6 separate regions of the Homo sapiens genome follow, and all the other regions are linked to region 2. The links are contacts of gene promoters, found by promoter capture Hi-C in human tissues and cell types (Jung and others, 2019). All regions are on one chromosome and are shown on one strand. The core of a region is centred on a gene start or on the middle of the fragment in contact, and the rest is flanking DNA. Distances in the headings are between cores, read along the strand shown.

Region 1 (3,392 bases), core at 316-2,815, 310 kb before region 2:
CATTCAACCAACATTTATTGAGTGTCTGCTGTATTCCAGACATCACACTATCCTTTCTTCCTTTGAAAGCAATAGTTTCTTTTTAAATGTGTCAGTTTCTACTAGATTAAGCTCTTTGAGAGAAGAGATGTATTCTGTCTCCTCTTTTTGTGGTCTGAGATGCCCTCACGGACCTGAGCACAGTAAATATGAAGTAAATGCGTGTTAAGTAATTGATCCCTACTGGCTTGAGGTAGGGAAATTTCTGGGTAATTGCATGTTCTGTCTGATTAGTAGTTCAGTGTGTACTACACAGAGATTATCATTTTGCAAGATGGAGTACTGTAAAACACTCAACTATAAAACTATTATTAACATAATTTGACATTTGATATTTGAGGAGAGAATTCACTGTGGTCTCAGAGAACCTCAGTAAAGCTTTATCACCATGGAACTGTAATGTGCAGGTAGAACACTCAGGAGGCGACCTTGATTTGGTCCTCTGACACGGGGAGCGGGGGCTGGAAACGCGCATGCACTGACGACCTGGTGTGCAGTGGGCTCCACACCGTGCCCTTATCTACTGGAAGTTACATGTTTGAAGTTTCTGGTAACAAGCGTTTCAAATTTTCTTTCACTTTTCTCTTGCTTACACAAGTGGGGAATGGCTTTTCTGTGAGGGGGAAGATTAAAGGGAGAGTGGTGGGAGAGTTGGTGGGGGAATGTGAGACTGGTTTTGAACAGCCTGGTAAGAACTAAACACATGGACCGATGGTAATCGAGAGCAGAGACTCTGGAGCCTGCAGCCTGGGTGTGAAGGCTTTCTGCTACTTACTTTGTGGGATTGGATGAGTTACATAACTTCTCTGTGCCACATTTTTCTCATCTGTAAAGATGAGCATAAGACCAGCACCGGCATCACAGGCTTGGTGGGGGTATGAAGTGAGTGAGTTCATACAAAGCTCTTGATCCAGTGCTTTATGAGTGCTCAGCAGGCTATGTTGATTTTCGGAGAGACCCCTAAGCAATAAGGTAGAAACTAGGGAAAGGGATTTCCCTACCCTCAATCTTTGTTTGGTACCATTTGTTTCTTTTTCAGTTTCGGCTATTTCTGAAGCCTTGAGATGTGTGAGACCCTGAGTTAACTGTCTTGGTTTCTTAATAAGATAGACATATGAATGAAGTCTGAATCTAAATGTGGAGAATTTGGGGTTTCAGGGAGAGGTATTAGAGTAACCACTCAGCCTTGTAGAGGAAAAGAGTTTTAATCTGTTGGTGAAACAGATGGAACTAGCTTCCCATTCTGATAGGAGTTGGAGGAAAACAATCTGTGCAATTTGTCCCAGCAGTAGAGCAGGAAGGAGTGGTGTGCATATAATTTCCTCTCTCCCCTGGGATGCTGCCGCATGTCTCAACCTGTGGAACTGCTGATTATTTGAAAGCAAGCAGCCCTCCAAGTAGCTAAGCAATCCCGTAGAAAGGGGGAAGACAATATTTAGTAGATATGATTGTTGCCTGGAATTCTAAATGTTGTCACCACCTAGCACCACATACCAATGTCTGTGAGGGTGTCTAGCATTGAGGGAGAGGTCAAGGGATGAGAATTTGGGAGGAATTAATCCTGTGCCCATAAGAAACATTCACATGTAAGACAGGACAAACAGAATAGATAAAAGTTCCGAGAGAAGTGATGCATACCGACTACAAAAGAGAGGCCCAGGGAGTGGCATTTTGCTTTTATTTCTGAGCTGGTACAAACATTAAGAACTTGGGTGACAGACTCCCTTTCCCACAGAAGGCCTCCTCAAGCTAAGCAAGAAGGTAGCTCACCTGAACTCGTTCTGTTTGTCCCTCAGCCCTGGCTGCCCAGGCCTACGCTCTGAAAGAGGAGAATGACAGTCTCCGCTGGCAGCTGGATGCCTACAGGAATGAGGTGGAGCTGCTGAAACAAGAAAAAGAACAGCTTTTCCGAACAGAAGAAAACCTCACCAAGGACCAGCAACTGCAGTTTCTGCAGCAAACCATGCAAGGCATGCAGCAGGTACCTGGCCCAGATTTTTTTTTTTTTTTTGAGAGAAAGAGATATGTGTATTAAATGAAAATGGAAAGGCAGCCGTGTGCTGGAAAGGGTGAAGGAGAAGAAATGACAACCAAAAAGCTATGTTACTAGGACAGAAAAGTGCTAATGACTGTTTGTGGAAGGGTAGAATCTGGAGAAAAGCCAAGCCAATAAAATATGTTGAAGAAATCACCCTGGAGGTAGGAAATAAAGGAAAATGATTTGGATTTAGGAGATTGAAAGGCTGCATGTGAAATATAGCCCCATGGCAAATACCTAGCAGATCCCTGCATGATACAAGCATTTTGTAATCTTAGAACTTTTAACTTCAAAGCACGACAACTGATTTTACAAAAGCAGTTTGTTTGTCTGTCTTCAAGGTTAGTGTAAATGTAAATTATATTGTTTCCACTTTTTCTGTATTACACTTAGGATCTAGTCAGGTTCTTTGAGCACATTACGTGTTTAAGAAGTGTTTGTTGATGGAATACATGAAGCATCAGAGTTTTGGGGGATAAATAACTTTAGAAACAGGGCAATAGCTGTGTTTTTGTTGAAGAGTGCCAGACCTCATCCTGGCATACTGAATTTAAAGATGTATATTTATGGCAATTGTTAAAAAGGAAATGAAAGTTGAGGGCTTTGGAGTAGGGAAAAGGAACAGGTACTGTGGGATATAAAATGTCGACAGGAGGGGAAAATCTGACTGTTGGCAGTGAGGGAATAGAGTCAAAGATTCACAGTCAGATTTGTATCTGAAAACGTCAATTGGTACCTGATATTCTTAAGGTGTTTGGGCCTTTGAGTTACCTTAGAATAACAGAGCATATATTATCATCATGGGTATTTTTAAATTATCCCTCTGAATATACAAATCCAATCAATATTTTCTGAAAAAAAAAAGATTGTTTTTATTTAAACAAGGGAAATATAAGTAGAATGATGGAAAGTTAAAATATATAGAGTCAATTTTTTTTAATTCCCCCATCCATATTGACTGCTCTGTAACATCCAGAGCATGGATTGCCTACAGAAGTATCTTAGTGATTAGAGGTAACTACTACAGATACATCAACCTAACAGGGAAAAATAATTGAGAGGGAGAGTATAAAAAAGAATCACGGATTGGGAAGTGAACAAGTTAATAACCAACTCGTACAAATTATATCTTAAACATCTTCTGCCATTTTAAAGCAATTTTTGAGTCTTGGCTTAGAGTCCTAACTGGTTGATGTTCACAGTGTGTGTTAGACTAATCAGTGAGATTCAGAGGTCAGAGCCAGCCAGGAAAATGTCATTACAGTTATTGCTCAAGTCTCTGTACTTGAAAATCGATGTAACAGCTGCTGTGTGA
Region 2 (3,244 bases), core at 446-2,945:
GATATTATTGAGTAACTGCCCTATTGAAAAACTTCCTGTGCCTTCCACATTGCCTACAACAGTGGTTCCCAAAGGGTGATCCTGAGACTGGCATCATTGGTATCACCTGGAAATTTGTTAGAAATGCAAATCCTTGGGCCCCATCCCAGACCTGAATCAGAAACTATATATATATATTTTTGAGATGGAGTCTCTCTCTGTCGCCCAGGTGGAGGTGGGGTTTCGCCACGTTGGCTAGGCTGGTCTTCAACTCCTGATCTCCAGGTAATCCTCCTGCCTCGGCCTCCAAAAGTACTGGAATTACAGGAGTGAGCCACCGTGCCTGGCCATAAATCTGTTTTAACGCACCCTCCTCCAAGTGGTTCTGATGCTTACTGAAATTTGTGAAACTCTGGCCTACTCTACAAAACCCTAATGTCTTAGGATGGCATAGAAATCCTGACTGACTTTCCTACCATGTTCCTTGTCATTATTTTCTCCTCTCCTGTCCCACCCTGGCCCACCCTTCAATTTCATTCTTTCATTAGCTATCAAACCTGTATGTGTCTTTTTGTTCTAAGCACCAATAATATAAGGAAGACAGTCCAGCTCCTAACTGTCTTGCTGACCTAGGACTGGGGTGCTCCAGCCACATGACAACCCCTGGAATTAAGTACACACCATGTCATTTTAAGTGACAAGCCTCTGCCATAGCATCTCCTTCTTCTTGGTGAATTCCTATGTCTTTGGTGGCTCATTCTCAAATGTCCCTGTTCCTGAATTACTCAGAGGGCTAATCCCCAGTTTCTCTGTGCCTCCACAGCTGCCTGTCATTTCATTTATCCCAAAGTGGCATTCCCATTTGTTTACCTGTCTACTAGGATACTCCTAGAATGCAGGTAGCATGAGGGAAGAGCCTTCACTCATCTTTGTGTAGACGGCATTGTGACCCTGGTGACCAACCCTGGCACACATCAGAATCATCTGGGAGCTTTTCAAAAATATGAATGCCAGAGCTCACCCCTGAACCTACAGGAACTGAGCCTTACACATCCATATTTTAAAATGTCCCCACATCACCGTTGCACACTGTTCTGCACAGAGCAGGTATTTTTAATAGTTCTCGAATGTCTAGTCAATTACTTAGCAAGGCTGCCTGGAGAATCATGTCTACCTTAGCTTACTTCTCCGGCTTTGTAGGTTTTTGTTTTCTTTTGATTTCAGTTTCCATTTCCTCTAACTTGAAAGTATGTGCATTGGTAACAGCCACACAGCAGTCATTACTGATAAAAGGCGACATTTTGTTGAGATGATTTTAGTTATTGACCTAATCTCTGGTATTTTAAGGTTAATATATTTTTTACAGTCTCAAATATCCAGCGGTAACCTCAAATTAGAGTTGCCTGTTAAACAGTTTCTCAAGTATCTTTCAGGATTGTAGTCACTCTGCGGGCTAATCGCTCACCAGGTGTCCGTGGCTGATCCCAGTTATTCTGATTAACCTCTAAGGTGATTGTGAGACTTTAAACCGTCTCACCTGTAGCCGACCAAGCCAGCTCAAGTCAACATCCTGGGCTGTTAACCCGCGATAAGGTCGGACGGGGCCTCAGTGGAGAATACGTGGGGAAGTTCTCTGGGGCGGGCGCAGTCTGCTGCTGATTCTGAGAAACCGAAACTCAGCTGTTAAAACCGCTGCCTCTGCACTTTGGAATCCCATCTTGAGACTCGCTAAGCGTCCCAGCCGCATCCCTCCCGCAGCGACGGCGGCCCGGGACCCGCGGGCTGTGAACCATGAACACCCGCAATAGAGTGGTGAACTCCGGGCTCGGCGCCTCCCCTGCCTCCCGCCCGACCCGGGATCCCCAGGACCCTTCTGGGCGGCAAGGGGAGCTGAGCCCCGTGGAAGACCAGAGAGAGGGTTTGGAGGCAGCCCCTAAGGGCCCTTCGCGGGAGAGCGTCGTGCACGCGGGCCAGAGGCGGTGAGTATTTTAACAACCTGGCTTCGGGGCGGGAGCCCGGGCCCCAAACATACTCACTCACAAGCACCTTGGTCCTTGGAGTTTAAAACCACAGGGGCCCAACAACAGGGATTTTGACTGAATGAAAGCTCATTTGCTTAAATGAAAGTATCCATGCCGCACCTTATAAATTGAGTCGGCTAGTTTGCAGTCCTTTGGTAAATAACCAGCCCGGTTCCTTCCAGGAATACTACTTTCCTGATTTTTGTGACTGGCTACAGGATTGAAAGATATGGGTGTGTCGGAACTGCCTAGGCATCCAGTAAGATGTCATTTTCCAGGTATCTCCAGAACTCATACTCCAACCAGTATGGAAATAACTTTTCCCTTACTGTTTTTAAAAATTTGGTGCTGGGCCAGGCGCGTTGGCTCAAGCCTGTTATCCCAGCACTTTGGGAGGCCAAGGCAGGCAGATCACCTGAGGTCAGGAGTTCGAAACCAGCCTGGCCAACATGGTGAAACCCAGTCTTTACTAAAAATAAAAAATAAGCTGGGTGTGATGGCACGTGCCTGTAGTCCCAGCTACCTGGGAGGCTGAGGTAGGAGAATCGCTTGAACCCGGGAGGCGGAGGTTGCAGTGAGCGGAAATTGCGCCATTGCACTCCAGCCTGGGCAACAGAGCGAGACTGTCTCAAAACAAAACAAAACAGAAAAACAAAACTTGGTGTCCTAAACGGAATTACTGTATCAGACACTAACAGGTAAGGGTCAACAAGAAATGTGATATGGGGTAGAAGGTTCAAATTCTGCCTCTAGGTAGGAGCAAGCCTACGTCCCAGCAAGACTCGCAGATAAACTAGCCTCTTACAACCAGAGGAGTGGAGCTGAGAGAGTGAGGAGGTGAGTGACCATAGTACCTCTCATCCCTGATGTTGATATGTGCTCTATGCAGGAACAGATAGGTAGCTTTTATTCCTGGTCTTTGGTTCAGGGACTGCAGTGAGTATCCGGGAAACATTTATTAAGCAAGTGTCATGAGCCTCTCTTTCTAGCCAATGGAATGAACTTTAACTCAACAGTATGGTTTATCACAACATCACTGCCTTTGAAGTGCTGCCTCTGTGAATTGGAACTGTCCAGATGGTTTTATTTTTAGTCTCTCCTTTTTCATCGACTTCTAGTCTCTGAAAGACAAACCCTGGTTGCTAAGAAACAGTATATAACCTTATGGCCGATAAACAGTAGATTTTCTTTCATCCCTTAGCTTTTGGAAAGTACCAGGCCTTTAATATTATTATTTAGCTTAG
Region 3 (3,346 bases), core at 14-2,513, 500 kb before region 2:
TCTCAACTAGAGCAACATCTACAGCATCTCTGCTCAACTGGGGCAGAATATATTTCCAAGCTCATTGGTTGTTGGTAGGATTTAGTTTCTCATAGGCTAATAGATAAAGGGCCCAAGTTTCTTACTGGCTGTTGTCTTGGAAAGATCCTTCAGTTTCTTTCCAAATGGGCCTCGCCATAGGGTGGTTCACAAAGTAGTAGCTGATCAGAGAAACAGGGCAAGAGAGATGTCATTTATCACTTTTGTCATAGGCGACACCCCATGCACCTGTGATGCACCTCTAGTTGAGATTCACTATATAACATAGTGAGCAGACCATTTCTACTGGATCCAAGGGTTTTGGTCAGAAATAGTCTGTTTTGAGATTACAGAGGATGGTGGGAACAGATATTTCTGGTGAATAACTTAGGTCTGATCTTTGGAAAATAGGGAGCCCTTGTAAGTTCTTTAGTAGTGGATGTACATAATTAGAGTTACATTTTAAGAATTATCTCATCTATGCATTTATTCACTTATTTTATTTATTTTTGAGATGGAGTCTCACTCTGTTGCCCGGGCTGCAGTGCAGTGGTGTTAGCTCACTGCAACCTCCACCTCCTGGGTTCAAGCCATTCTCCTGCCTCCGCCTCTCAAGTAGCTGGGACTACAGGCACACATCACCATACCTGGCTATTTTTGTACTTTTAGTAGAGACAGGGTTTCACCATGTTGGCCAGGCTGGTCTCAAACTCCTGACCTCAAATGATCTGCCTCCTCAGCCTCCCAGAGTGCTGGGATTACAGGCATGAGCCACAGTGCCCTGCCTTATTTACTTTAGTTCAAATGTTTATCACCACTATAGCCTGAGGATGACCCATTTTGGGCTCTTTTCAGGATGAACTACAAGAATAAATACTAGCTAGAAGTTATGGTTGATATGATTTGGATGTTTGTCCCCTCCAAATCTCATGTTGAAATGTGATTCCCAATGCTGAAGGTGGGGCCTGGTAGGAGGTGATGGGATCATGCGGGTGGATCCCTCATGAATGGTTTGGCACCATGTCCTTTGTGATAGGTGAGTTCTCACTAAGTCCATGCAAGATCTGGTTGTTTAAAAGAGTCTGGGACCTCTCCCTTTTCTCTCTTGCCCCTGCTGTCATCATGTGATGGACCTGCTCCCATTTGCCTTCCACCATGATAGTAAGCTTCTTGAGGATGCGCCAGAAGCAGACACCAGCGCCATGCTTCCTGTATAGGCTGAAGAACCATAAGCCAAAATAAATTTTTGCTTATGAATTACCCAGCCTCAGATGTTTCTTTATAGCAATCTAAGAATGAATTGACACAATGGTAGTGCATAAATTGTGATGTTATGAGTTGGAATGAATGGAAAATAGTGTTAACAGGTTTTCAGTGAAAGGGATAAAGAAGGATACTGTATTTATTGCAGGCTCACTCTCTTAGTCTATTTGTGCTGCTATACCAAAATACAATAGATGGGGTAATTTATAAAGCATAAAAATTTGTTTGCTTACAGTTCTGGAGGCTGAAAAGTTCAAGATGAATGCACTGGCAGGTTCAGTTTTCTGGAAAGGGAAGCTTTCTTCCAAGATGGTTATTCCGGAGGGGAGGAACCCTTTGCCCTCACATGGCAGAAGGCAGAAGAGCAATTATCCAAATGCTGTGTGAAACATTTTTTAATAAGGTCCTTAATCTCATTTACCTGGGAGGAGTCCTTATGGCCTAATCACCTCTTAAAAGCCCAATTTCTTAATAATATCACATTGCCAACACCTGAATTTTGAAGGGGACACATTTTAACCATAATATTCTACCCTGGCCCCTCTCCCAAATTTATGTCCTCTCACATGCAAAATACATTGATTCCATCCCAGTAGCCCAGTCTAAACTTGTTCTAGCATCAACTCAAAGTCTAAAATCCAGAGTCTCATCTAAATCCTCTATGGGTGAGACTCAAGGCATAATTCATGTCAAGGCAAATTGCTCTCCTGCTATGAACCTGTGAAGTTAAACAAGTTATGCGCTTCTAAAATATTAATACGATGATGGGACTGGGCGCAATGGCTTATGCCTGCAATCCCAGCACTTTGGGAGGCCGAGGCAGGTGTATCACTTGAGGCCAGGAGTTCGAGACCAGCCTGGCCAACATGACAAAACCCTGTCTCTACCAAAAATAGAAAAAAATCTGGCTGGGCGTGGGGGCAGGCACTTGTAATCTCAGCTACTCAGGAGGATGAGGCAGGAGAATCGCTTGAACCCAGGAGGTGGAGGTTGTGGTGAGCCGACGTCATGCCACTGCATTCCAGCCTGCGTGACAGAGCGACATTCTGTCTCAAAAATAAAGTAAAATACAATGATGGGACAGACATAGGATAGACATTTCCATTCCAAAAGGGAGAAATAGCAAAGAAGAAAGGGGTAACAGGTCCCAAGTAAGTCTAAAACCCAACAAGGCAAACATTAAATCTTAAGACTTGAAAGTAATCTTTTACTTCATATCTTCTTCAAGACATACTCAGCTGGGTTGGGTCTCCAAGCCTCCAGGAGACCCTTCTATGACAATATTGTTGAGCATAGCCCATGAAGCAGCTCTCGCGGGCTGGAGTTCAGCCCTTGTAGCTCTCTCAGGCTGGAGTTGCATGCTGTGGCTCTACAATAATGGGATTTTATGAGTGAACCTGCCCCCATGGCTGCACTAAGGATTGCCCTACTGGGGACTCTCTGCAGTGGCTCTGACCCCACAGTTCCACTAGTCATTGCACTAGTGAAGGGTCTCTGCCATGGTCCTACCTCTGTGGCAAGCAAGTTCATGCCTAGGTCCCAAGGCTGCCTGAGACATCCTTTGAAATCTAGGCGGAAGCAGCTGTGTCTCACAGCTCTTGCACTCTGTAAGCCTCAGAATTACGACCATATGGAGGCTGCCAGGGTTTACAGCTGCAGCTGGGTCCACTCAAGCCACAGCTGGGGAGGCTGAGGAATGCCGTAACAGAATGTGGGGAGCAGAGACTTGAGATTGCCCTGGGCAGTGAGTCCCCAGATCCCCCAGGCACCCTGGGCCCCTTCCTCAAAACCATTCTGCCCTCAAAGCCCTAGCACTCTGGGCCCATGATGGGAGGGGCAGCCTCAAAGATCTTCAAAATGTGTTTAGAGCCATTGGTGCATTGTCAATGGCTCCTGGCTTTCTTCTAAAGCACCTGGCTTTCTTCTATCCATACTAATCTCCTTACCAAACAGTCACTTGGTCATGCACTTGGTTTTCTCTTCTAAACGCACTTAATTTTTATTCTCCACATGTCCAAGCTGAAAATTTCCCAAATGCTCACAATTTGAATTAATGGAAAATTCA
Region 4 (3,511 bases), core at 721-3,220, 470 kb before region 2:
GTTTTGGTTTTTTGTTGTTGTTGTCGTTGTTTGTTTTTTGAGACAGAGTCTCGCTTTGTCACCCAGGCTGGAGTGCGATGGTGCAATCTCGGCTCACTGCAACCTCTGCCTCCCAGATTCAAGCAATTCTCCTGCCTCAGCATCCTGAGTAGCTGGGACTACAGGCGCGTGCCACCACACCCAGCTAATTTTTTTGTAGTGTTAGTAGAGATGGGGTTTCACGATGTTGGTCAGGCTGGCCTCAGACTCCTGACCTCGTGATCCACCCGTCTCAGCCTCCCAAAGTGCTGGGATTACAGGTGGGAGCCACCGCACCCAGCAGAGGATAGTTATTTTTACAAAGAGAAAACAAAGGATTATTGACAGCTACATAGAAAATTACTGACAGAACTAACATATGGCTCCTAGATCATTTTCTGGTAGGATCTTTGGCCCTTTTCCTACTCTACATCCTTTTAGTCCCAGTGACGTTTAGCATAGTACCCTCCTTTCAGATAAAAATAAGTGTTGTTAGATTGATAGAAAAATGAAAGTATTTTACTAATAAAAATACTTTTAGCAGTTTATTGTATAATGATAGCATTAACATTTTTTCATCATGAATGTCCATTTGAGTTTTATGCTGGTATCATGGTATAGTCCTGCAACCTAAGGATTAACTTATCTCTGTTATTTTCTGTTTTGATTGAGCACTGGGTAGCCAGTCTGACCACTACATAGTTGATTCATGTTACTTATTGATTGCCAAAATTGCCAGAGGTACCCTGGTCATTCAACTGTCTTTATAATCAAGGCAAATCCACTATGCAGCAATTCAGTCAATGGTTTGGTGTTCATCTGTCTAAAATGTTGATGGTACCACATAGGGACAAGATAAAATAGCTCATTTCATTGAAATCGTAATAGATTTTTCTCCCACTCTAAAATTTGTATGCTGCTATAGGAGGGAGCATCAATCAATCAAAATTAGCACATATTCTGTTGTTCTTTTCTTCCTTAAAACATTTAGCTGAAGTTGTAGAAACTCAGAGAAACATATGTTAGAGTGGGAAGTCGCAGAGCAACTCATCCAGTCTTTTCCAAAGTATGTCAATAAATATTACCTGAAAGAAAAGAAAAAAGGGGGAGAGTCTGTAGTCAAGTAAGTTTGTATAACGGAAGGTAAAACAAAATGGGACAGATACCTTGAATAAACTCATATGTGTTTCAAAGCTTCAAGAATGGGGAGGGGGAGGTGTGAGACGATCGAGGTGTGTTTCAAAATCATCTAACCACAGAACTCTTTGTCCTGAACACTTGGAGGGACTTCATATAACCTCCTAATTTTGTAGTTAAATAGAATTCTAAAGGGGTCAAGAAACTGATGCTGGGCCAAATATTTTCCTTTATTGTTTTTGTCCAGTCCTCCCTTTCCCCTACTTATATAAAAGTAGATAGCAATATAATGATTTTCTTAATATAATCAATATATCAATATAATGATTTTCTCAATTTTCTGTAAGAGCTCTGCACACCCCTTTTCAGTGGCTAACTGATGCGTTGCTTCCAGGTGACCAGCTTACCAGTGATGCGATGCCTAAAAAATGGAAATGAAAAATTAGTCAGTTGGAAAAGATGTACTTTTAGACAGCTTAAGGTTTCAATATCATCTCATATTCTGACTTGAATAGCTTTTTTTAATTGGGTACCTACAGTATGCCAGGTGCTTTATATGCATTGTATGATTTAATTCTCATAAAATCCTGCAAAATAGAGAATATGTCCATTTTCCTATCGGGGAGTTTATTTAGTAAATGGAAGACAGGGGATTTAAAATAAGGTCAATCTGACTGTAAAGTCAAGCTTTTTGTTAAGCTCAAAGATATGATGATGGCTACATTGGAAGTGATGTTGTTGACAACATAGTTAACTTTTTTAAAAAAGTTATTGGTCCATAATTGAGTATGACAGAGGATAGAGGACTACATAATTTGAGCTAGACAAATTTATAAGAAATATAAGCAGGAAAATAAACATATATTCAAGTAAAAGGATTACCTGCAAGCTAACATAAATTTCTTTGGGAGATGAGGGGAGGAATACACACATATATACCTTGGTACATACATATACACATATATTCTTGAGCCAAAAAATAGATATATTTCAGAGTGGTAAGAGTCAGTATATAGTTAGAAGTTGGTCTGGACATGTAATTGTGAAAAATCATTATGTGATAGGTTCTGTTGCAGGCTATACTGCTTTTCATATGCATTTTGGGTACATTTTGTTGACTGATAAAACGTAGTTTGACCATTAACATTCAGTGACATAAATTGCTTAACTGCCTTCCAAGTCAGTGATCATTGTTTGGAATTATCTTAAAGCCAGATGATTTTCCGAAATTTATCTTCTTATTTAGTGAACATACATAGCTTTTCTTAGTATAGTTATTTAGTTGGGCCAGTCTTCCTGCTGTTCTGTTTTAAAATCTTTTATGTCTGTTTCCTTTTTCTCCTTCCCCCTCCCTCCCTTTCTGCTTTCTTTCTTCCCTCCTCCTTATAGTCTTCCTTCCTTCTTATTGATAAATTGATATGCGTCTACCTCAAATTGATTATTTGTCCAAACTTCTGGAGCCAAGATAACAAAATGCTGTTATCTGGATAAAGATAACATTTATGGAAAGTCAACTTGACCTTGCCTGATAATCCCTAAAAAATAACAAAGAAGTAAAATGATTTTGTCAATACCCTCCTTAACAGTAGTTGTGAGGTGGTTACTAGTTTGTCCAAGTAACTCATAAAGTTCTCTGGACAAACAAACTAGACCAAAACAAAATACATAAGTACATATAACTACAAAGTAAAATGTATAACACTAGAAACTTCTGGTTTTATTAGATTGAACACATGCTTTCATATCTTCCTGTTCCAGAAATCTCACTAAAATTAGTAAAGAATAAAAAATAAATCTCATTAAAATTAGTAAAGAACAAAAAATAAATCTCACTGAAATTAGTAAAGAATTTTAAAAACCACAAAGCAGGGACACAAAGCAAATGAGAGAACAGAGGAGAGGCTACTGAATGTGAGATATCAGGCAATTTGTGGAAGACAGCAGAGTGATGGAGGAGGAATAGCTGAGGTGCACTGAGCAAAGCCTTCAGATTCATGCACGGGATGCTGTGGAGGCTTAGGAGTCATGAGACTGGAAAAAGGAGAATTGATTGCCAGGAGCTTCAGACCAACAGAGTATATGGAGTAGTTAGGCCCTGCCCTCCCTAGCTCACACTGACTCTACCAATTCCCCAACCCTATGTGAGGTATCAGGGATAGTCTTAGGCTACATTGAATCAGAGATACTCTAGACTCAGGGATTGGGCCCAGGAGAGAGGATGAAACTCCACAGAGAGAACAGGTGAAACCCTCCTGGACTATTCCCTGACATAGCTCCCAGGGAACCTACAGCTAGGGACTGGCTCCTTAGGCAGGGGTTTGGAGATTCTTATCTGCAGAAACTCAGTCCAAAAAAT
Region 5 (3,245 bases), core at 57-2,556, 410 kb before region 2:
GGAGAATGGCGTGAACCCGGGAGGCGGAGCTTGCAGTGAGCCGAGATGGCGCCACTGCACTCCAGCCTGGGTGACAGAGTGAGACTCTGTCTCAAAAAAAAAAAAAAAAAAGACAACATACTTCCCAATTAACTACATAGAGCCACATCCTTTATCAGTGACTAATTTGGAGCCAACAAAAGACTTCTTCACACTTGTAAGGGTCTATCAGCACCCTTAAGTGTTCCTTGGCTCATACCTTGCTGTTTCTTTTTCAGAAGCTCTGGGTTCACTGTCACTGCTTCTGTTTCCTGCCATTCTGAGAAGAACTTAGCTTTCTATCTCATGGAACGCCAAGATAGGTTGCAAGTCCTTCTCCGTCCCCTTCACTACCCTCTCCCATTCACTGGTGTTTCCACTTATTTTCATTCTTCTCTGCTTCCTCAGAGTACTTTTTTCTAATTTCCTTCTTGGGTTGTTTAATCCTCACAGGAACACCTTTATCCTCTTTAATATGCCCAGATATGAAGAGGGATTTGTTAAATCCTTTCATCTCCTCAAGCATCACTCTTTTAACTGAGATTTATTGAGCCAGATGTTATGCTAAATACTGGGAATACAGGACATAGACCTTACTGTCATGCTTTAGAGTGGCGGGAGAAACAGAAAAGAGTAAATACACAAAAACAAATTAACATGATAAGTGGTTATGCTACTAATAGATAAAGGGTGCTATAGGATGTCACTGAAGAAAGTTAAGCAGGGGAGTAGCAGGATCAGAATTATATTTTTACAGAGCATGTTTGTAACCCCTATAGAGGACTGATGGGGGTGTGGAAAGGTTGGCAACCAGACAGGAGTTACCCAGATAAGAGACAGTGATGGCAGTAATGCCAGCGATTATCCTGAGCAGTACAGATGGAGTAACCTGAAGGGATTCATGAGACATTTCATTGTAGAAACCACAGGAATGGATGACTAAGACCACATGGAACATAAGGAGAGTGAAGAATCAACAGTGACTCCTAGGCTTCTAGACTTGCAAGTGGGGTTAACCATAGAGCCATTTGCTTAGAAGGTGGGGAAGGCTGAAAGAGAAGGATGGGTAAGATGGCTCATTTCCTTTTGGATATGTTGAGTTTGAGGAACCTGTTGAAAGAAAACCTGTGTTGAGCAGGGAGATTTATGGGCCTGGCAAGCAGGAAGGAAGGCCTGATGGAGGTATGGCTTTGGTGGCCACAACATAGGGATGGTTGTTGACGCCCTGGGGACCGTAACGCCCAGACGCACCTCTGCTGTGAAATTAGGAAGAAGCTCTCAGATGCTCCTTCAAGTTTCAGCCTACCCTGCAGCCAGGTCTCCAGATCCCTCTCTTGTGTCCCACTACATTCCTACTATTTCAGGGCTCCAAGATTTGAAATGAGAGAAGTGGTCAGAGATAAAAAAATAGAATCTGGAAATCCTGCCTGAAACTGTCTCTTCAGCTTACAAATACACTCAGGACTGTCTGTTGATAAACCACCCCACATGCTTGTTTTTAAAATGAAAATCATACTTATACCAGCAAAGTTTCTTTCTTTAGTCCCTTCAGATATTAATGGTGGCATTCTCTGACACAGCCATGATGAAGGGGATACAGACAGCCTGGCGGGTACCAGTGGGGGTCTCTAAAGGATGATGCTCAGAGTTCTCTTTTGTTTTTATTTTCCATCTTGTTGAAAGATTTCTCACTATCAAGTGTCAGAAAACAAATAGGCCCTTGACTTATGTTTCACAATTTATGTACCTGATTTCATGTACTTGTGACAGTTCTGTTACACTCTATGCATTTACTTACCCTTTCTTCCCCAGGACATTAGGACATTACATTGGTATATTTATTTACTCACCACAGTATTACAGCATTTTTTACAAGGCACTAGAGGAACAGCAATTGGCCTGACCGACCAGTGATGCTCTTATGGAGAACACGTATCTCTAAAGAAGATGTTATCAAATAATTATACAAATGACTAATTATAATTGTGGGATGTTACAAAGAGGAATTGGGAGGCTAACTTTGTTTGGAGGTATTGGAGAAGCTTCAGAAAAGGTTCCCCTAAAGTAGTAATATTCAAACTAAGACCTAAAGGATAAATTAGACTTATCTAGTTAGCAGGAAGGAAGAGCAGAAAGAAATGGAGAATTTGAAAAGATGAGAAAGTTCTAAAAGCAGAAAATGTCCTGTTCAAAGACCTGAGATGAAAGGAGCTTATCCTCTTCAAAGAAGAGAAAAGTGGGTGTATGTGGGCCAGAGGTGGTGGTTGGGATGGAGTGGGATTGGCAGGTTGGTGCTTAACTCAAGTCTGGTAGGATAGGCTGGGGCCAGACCATGCCTTCCAAAGCTTGGAGTACAGACTTTATTTGAAGTGCAAACTACTGAAGTTTTAAGGAGATAAGTGACCTGTGACTCGTGTGTTTTGTTTCTTTATTTCTGCTAACAAAAAAGCATCTGACTTGTTTTATAGAGACTGCATTGAAGAATGGCAAGAGGGGAGGGAGGCTGGGTTTGTATCTAGAAGGCTGCTGTCCAAAAAGGGATGGCAGAGGTAGATGGGGCAGAGGTAGATGGCCTAGATACATCCAATGGGACTGGAATATGGAGCACCTGCCATGTGCAGGCACTGCCATAGACGCTACACATGCTGTCCTGCAACTTGCATCCTAGTGCTAAGCTGATGTGTGTGTGTCTACAATATTTCTTTTGTTTCTTTTTCTTTCTTTTTATTTATTTATTTTTTTTTTTGAGACAAGATTTTACTCTGTCATCCAGGCCAGAGTGCAATGGCCTGATCACAGCTCACTACAGCTTCAACTTCCCGGGCTCAGGTGATTCTCCACCTCAGCTTCTCGAGTAGCTGGGACCACAGATGTGTGCCAGCTAATTTTTTGTATGTTTAGGAAAGATGGGAATTCACACCATGTTGCCCAGGCTGGGCTCTAACTCCTGGGCTTGATCAAGCAATCTGCCCGCCTCAGCCTCCCAAAGTGGTAGGATTACAGGTGTGAGCCACTGCACCCAGCCTGTCTACAGTATTTCTAGAGATAAGAGAATGTGTAAAATCTGTTTCCAAAAAAGATTTGCTTTGGCCTATCCCATGTACTATATAAGGTAACTGACATCACTTAAAGCAAATCAAAGATTGTTCTCCACAAATGACAAAAGCCTATATCCTTGTTAGCTAGAGATGTTACAAACTTTTGTTAAATGCTTAATATAATATAGT
Region 6 (3,404 bases), core at 703-3,202, 330 kb after region 2:
AAAAGTATTTGATAAATAAAAGGTTTGCTGACATTGCAGTTATTGCATTTAACAGCTTGGGCATATTCATTTCGTGAGGAAAGAGATGAAGAGTTTGAAAGGGCCTATAATAAAGTAGCAGTTTGATTTGTGTGGAGGATGATATCTCTGCTCTGTCTTAAATTAGTTCATTAATATGCCTAGATAGTATAAAGTTTGCAATTAAACATGATAAAAACACAAACAGTGCCATCTTTTGGACAATGCTTAAACTCAATGCACATATACAGACACACATACCTGTGTCAGGCTATGTATTCAATACCCACAAGCATTCATCACAGATGCCAGCAAGATCTTGTTTTTATCATTAATTAATCTCCAGAGTATTAAAGCTTTTATTGGCATTATAGGAATGCAAGCCACCATGCTTAACTTGCACCTGTTCAAATTACATGGAATAGCACGCTCAGATTGGCTTTCTAACATCTCCATGGAAATGCCACTGTGAACATGTGTTTATTTGATTCTTGGAGCACCTGAGGAAGGTTTTTTCCTTATTTAAGTTCCTATCTAAACCTAGGATGAGCTCTCCTTGCTTCTGGGGCCATGGCTTTGCTCTCACTGTGCAGGTATTATCCCAGCCTCTCCAAAAATAAAAAAGAAAAAGAAAGAAAATAAAACTAGGATGAAATCCATCTGGCTCAGGTGTCAGGTTTTGAAAAACAGGTGGATGGATGTCATGTATAAAAATAGAAATGCTATTGTTATTCTGCTTATAACTGTTATTCCTAACTGAAGTGAGAGAATAGACAAGAAAACGCTGTTTCCCAAAAACTCATTTTCTATTGAATAGTGCAGATCAGTTCAGTATGGGGCAATCTGAAAAGATGACCTACACATCAAGATGCCAGTATTTTAAAAGAGGAATTCCAAATTGTCATTCTAGTCAAGCATTTAATAACTATCTAGCATTATGCTAGAGACTCTGCATGAAGCTGTCCTGTGGCCCCTAAAATGATTGGGACAGTTATAGCTTGAAGACTTTGTAGGAGGAAAAATGTTTCAAAGAATGATTTTAAAGGAGTGTGGGATATAAAAACAAGATGGAGGTAATTTTGATGATGATGATAGCTAACATTTACTGGACATTTACCATGTGCTAGGTACTGTTTAAATATTGTACATGAATAAACTAATTTAACTCTCATGTCAATTTAATGAAGTAGATTTAACTGCATGTCAATTTAATGAAGCTAGATTTCTCCTCACCAAAGGAGAAACTGAGACAGAGAGGGGATTAGCAACTTGTCCCATGTCAAATAGTTAGTCAGCAACCACTTACTAAAGAATCTCAGGTCAAAGAAAACTGAAAAAATAGGGATTTGCCATGATGAAGTCGTAATGGACCAAAGCTAGGATCAGGGCATGAACATCAGATTCATTCACTCATTCATTCAACAAATACACAATTACTTCAACACCTATCCTCTGCCAGGTATCATTGTCATGGCAACGGATTGAACAAAACAAACTCCCTGGCATTGTACAGCTTGCCTTAGAGTGGGGCAGATACTACACAGAAACATACTATAACATCTTGAGGTGGTTAAAAAAGCAGAATAGAGTGAATGAATGCTTGGGGACACTGTGCTAGGCTCAAATGAATACAAGATGAAATAATTGGTACCTGCCCCTCAAAGCACTTTGAGCCTGATGAGGAACAGACAGACTCAGTGACTTGTGCTATGGGAGAGGAGAGCACAGGCTGCTTGGAAGCATGTAGGCTTCCCCATCTAGACTGGCAACGAGGCTTTCAAAGGAGGCTTCTCACAGTTGGTGATGTCTCCACTGAGAATTATAAAATAATAGAATTAACTAGACAGGAAGTGTGGGGACATTTAAGGAAAGAATAAACACAAAATACTCAATTTGAGAGTTGGGCAAGCTCTGGTAACTGAAGGAAGCTCCATGTAATGGGATCTTAGGTTAGATGCAGGAGAGTGGCTGAAAATAGGGGGGTCTGCAAGTTTGAGCAGAGGTCAAATCATACGAAGCCTCGCATGCCCTGAGATGAAGTAGATGCTAACTAATTCTGAGGGCCGTGAGTAGACACTGAGGGGTGGTGATGGGAAAAGATGAGACAGATTCTGTTTTCTGCAGAGAGCACTCCAACAACGATGTGTCTCATGGGCTGGAGGGGACAAGGTAAAGACAGGAGGATAAGCACGGAGACCGTCACAGCAGTCCAGGGGAGAGAAGAGGGGCTTGGAAAAGAGGATCCCCGTCTGCAAGACTCTTAGAAGAAAGGTGGTGGTTTATTGGATTTGGGGGAGGAATGGAAAGTAAAGGGAAACAGGAAGATGTGCAGGTGGCTGGTGTGGGGGACTGGGAAGGCCGTAGTGTCATTCACAAGAAGAGAGAATACAAAAGGAGGGGCAGAGTTAGATGTTGGAGTGCTTGAAGCTTACTAGACATTCCCGCCATTCCAAACATCACTGTTTCTCCATCACGCATGCCATCATCTCTGTCTTCTCCGGGTGTTTGAAAAGGCTGTGGCCCTTACCTGTTTTCCCGCATCTTCTGTGGCCTCTCCCTGAGCTTGTCTCTGGGCAATCCCTCCTCATAACTCAGGTCTAGACTCCAGTGTCACTTACTTCCTCGCCTCCACGGCCCCAGGCAGGGTGGAGCTCCTGCGTGTGCTCCCCTCGCAGTGATTCTCCCTCTCGGCAGTAACAGTTTCTTCTCACTTGTCTCTGTCCAAAACTAAATAATAAACTCAGCCCAGATTCTCCACTACACACTTCCTGCCTCATGGTACATCCTCCAGAAATACTTGGACGTCTATATGAATGAGTGTCCTGTAAATCCCTAGATATATGGACACCAAGCTCAAAAGAAGGATCTGAAATTAGAGGTATGGATTTGGGCGTCATCAGCTGGTGGAAGCAATTTCCCTTCAATTGATGACCCCACAGCCCTAGGAGAAGAAAGTGGTTGTTTTTTTTCCAATATCATCCTGAAGGGCAGTGCCAAAAAAAAAAAAAAAAAAACCCCCACATATTTATTGTGCTCAAAACACCTTACATGTATCTTCTTTTTATGCTTTCTGTCTTCCCAGAAAAGCAGGTGGTGGTGTGCACTCGTTTTCCTTCTTTTCTTCCTCTCTCTATTGATTCCTTTTCTGCTCAAATAAAAGGCTTTTCACACTAATAGCAAAGACAACATAGACACACTGAAATGATACACAAAGAAGATCTCTTTCCTCAATTTCAGGGAATGGCTTTTCTTTAAAAACAAAGGTAAAAAACGATCTCCTTTCTCCCACTACCCTTCCAAATCCTCTCCCATCTCTGGGGACCTTCATGTCTTTTAAGTCTCACATTTCTCTGTGTCCTGCTTAACCTAAGTTTCTGTTTTGAAAT

The links. Contacts are between HindIII fragments. The study calls those that stand out against the background at their distance.
Region 1: a fragment that was not itself captured here is called in contact with the fragment with the promoter of EPSTI1 in region 2 in 1 of the 25 tissues and cell types used here (H1 embryonic stem cells).
Region 3: a contact is called between a fragment that was not itself captured here and the fragment with the promoter of EPSTI1 in region 2, in 1 of the 25 tissues and cell types used here (lymphoblastoid cells).
Region 4: a contact is called between a fragment that was not itself captured here and the fragment with the promoter of EPSTI1 in region 2, in 1 of the 25 tissues and cell types used here (dorsolateral prefrontal cortex).
Region 5: a fragment that was not itself captured here is called in contact with the fragment with the promoter of EPSTI1 in region 2 in 1 of the 25 tissues and cell types used here (dorsolateral prefrontal cortex).
Region 6: a fragment that was not itself captured here is called in contact with the fragment with the promoter of EPSTI1 in region 2 in 2 of the 25 tissues and cell types used here (IMR-90 fibroblasts and dorsolateral prefrontal cortex).

What each region holds. Positions count from the first base shown.
Region 1 is chr13:43,296,974-43,300,365 of GRCh38, reverse strand. ENOX1 (ecto-NOX disulfide-thiol exchanger 1) reads left to right here. Exons shown (of 17, transcript NM_001347969.2): 12 at 1,836-2,020. Among named protein-coding and RNA genes, the nearest start is that of ENOX1-AS2, 150 kb to the left of the region's middle. The HindIII fragment of the contact is 4,025 bases long and covers 1-3,392 here.
Region 2 is chr13:42,990,692-42,993,935 of GRCh38, reverse strand. EPSTI1 (epithelial stromal interaction 1) reads left to right here and starts at 1,695. Exons shown (of 11, transcript NM_033255.5): 1 at 1,695-1,958. The coding sequence starts at 1,771. RefSeq lists enhancers at 1,062-1,301, 1,562-1,681. The HindIII fragment of the contact is 8,524 bases long and covers 1-3,244 here.
Region 3 is chr13:43,488,945-43,492,290 of GRCh38, reverse strand. The region is part of intron 2 of ENOX1 (ecto-NOX disulfide-thiol exchanger 1); the gene reads left to right. Among named protein-coding and RNA genes, the nearest start is that of ENOX1-AS2, 42 kb to the right of the region's middle. The HindIII fragment of the contact is 3,392 bases long and covers 1-2,959 here.
Region 4 is chr13:43,456,522-43,460,032 of GRCh38, reverse strand. The region is part of intron 3 of ENOX1 (ecto-NOX disulfide-thiol exchanger 1); the gene reads left to right. It overlaps ENOX1-AS2 (ENOX1 antisense RNA 2), which reads right to left. Exons shown (of 4, transcript NR_120399.1): 3 at 1,563-1,576; 4 at 545-1,103. Among named protein-coding and RNA genes, the nearest start is that of ENOX1-AS2, 9.4 kb to the right of the region's middle. The HindIII fragment of the contact is 4,663 bases long and covers 1-3,511 here.
Region 5 is chr13:43,403,359-43,406,603 of GRCh38, reverse strand. All of the region lies in intron 5 of ENOX1 (ecto-NOX disulfide-thiol exchanger 1), which reads left to right. Among named protein-coding and RNA genes, the nearest start is that of ENOX1-AS2, 44 kb to the left of the region's middle. The HindIII fragment of the contact is 3,394 bases long and covers 1-3,003 here.
Region 6 is chr13:42,657,397-42,660,800 of GRCh38, reverse strand. No RefSeq gene overlaps it. Among named protein-coding and RNA genes, the nearest start is that of TNFSF11, 85 kb to the right of the region's middle. The HindIII fragment of the contact is 4,217 bases long and covers 1-3,404 here.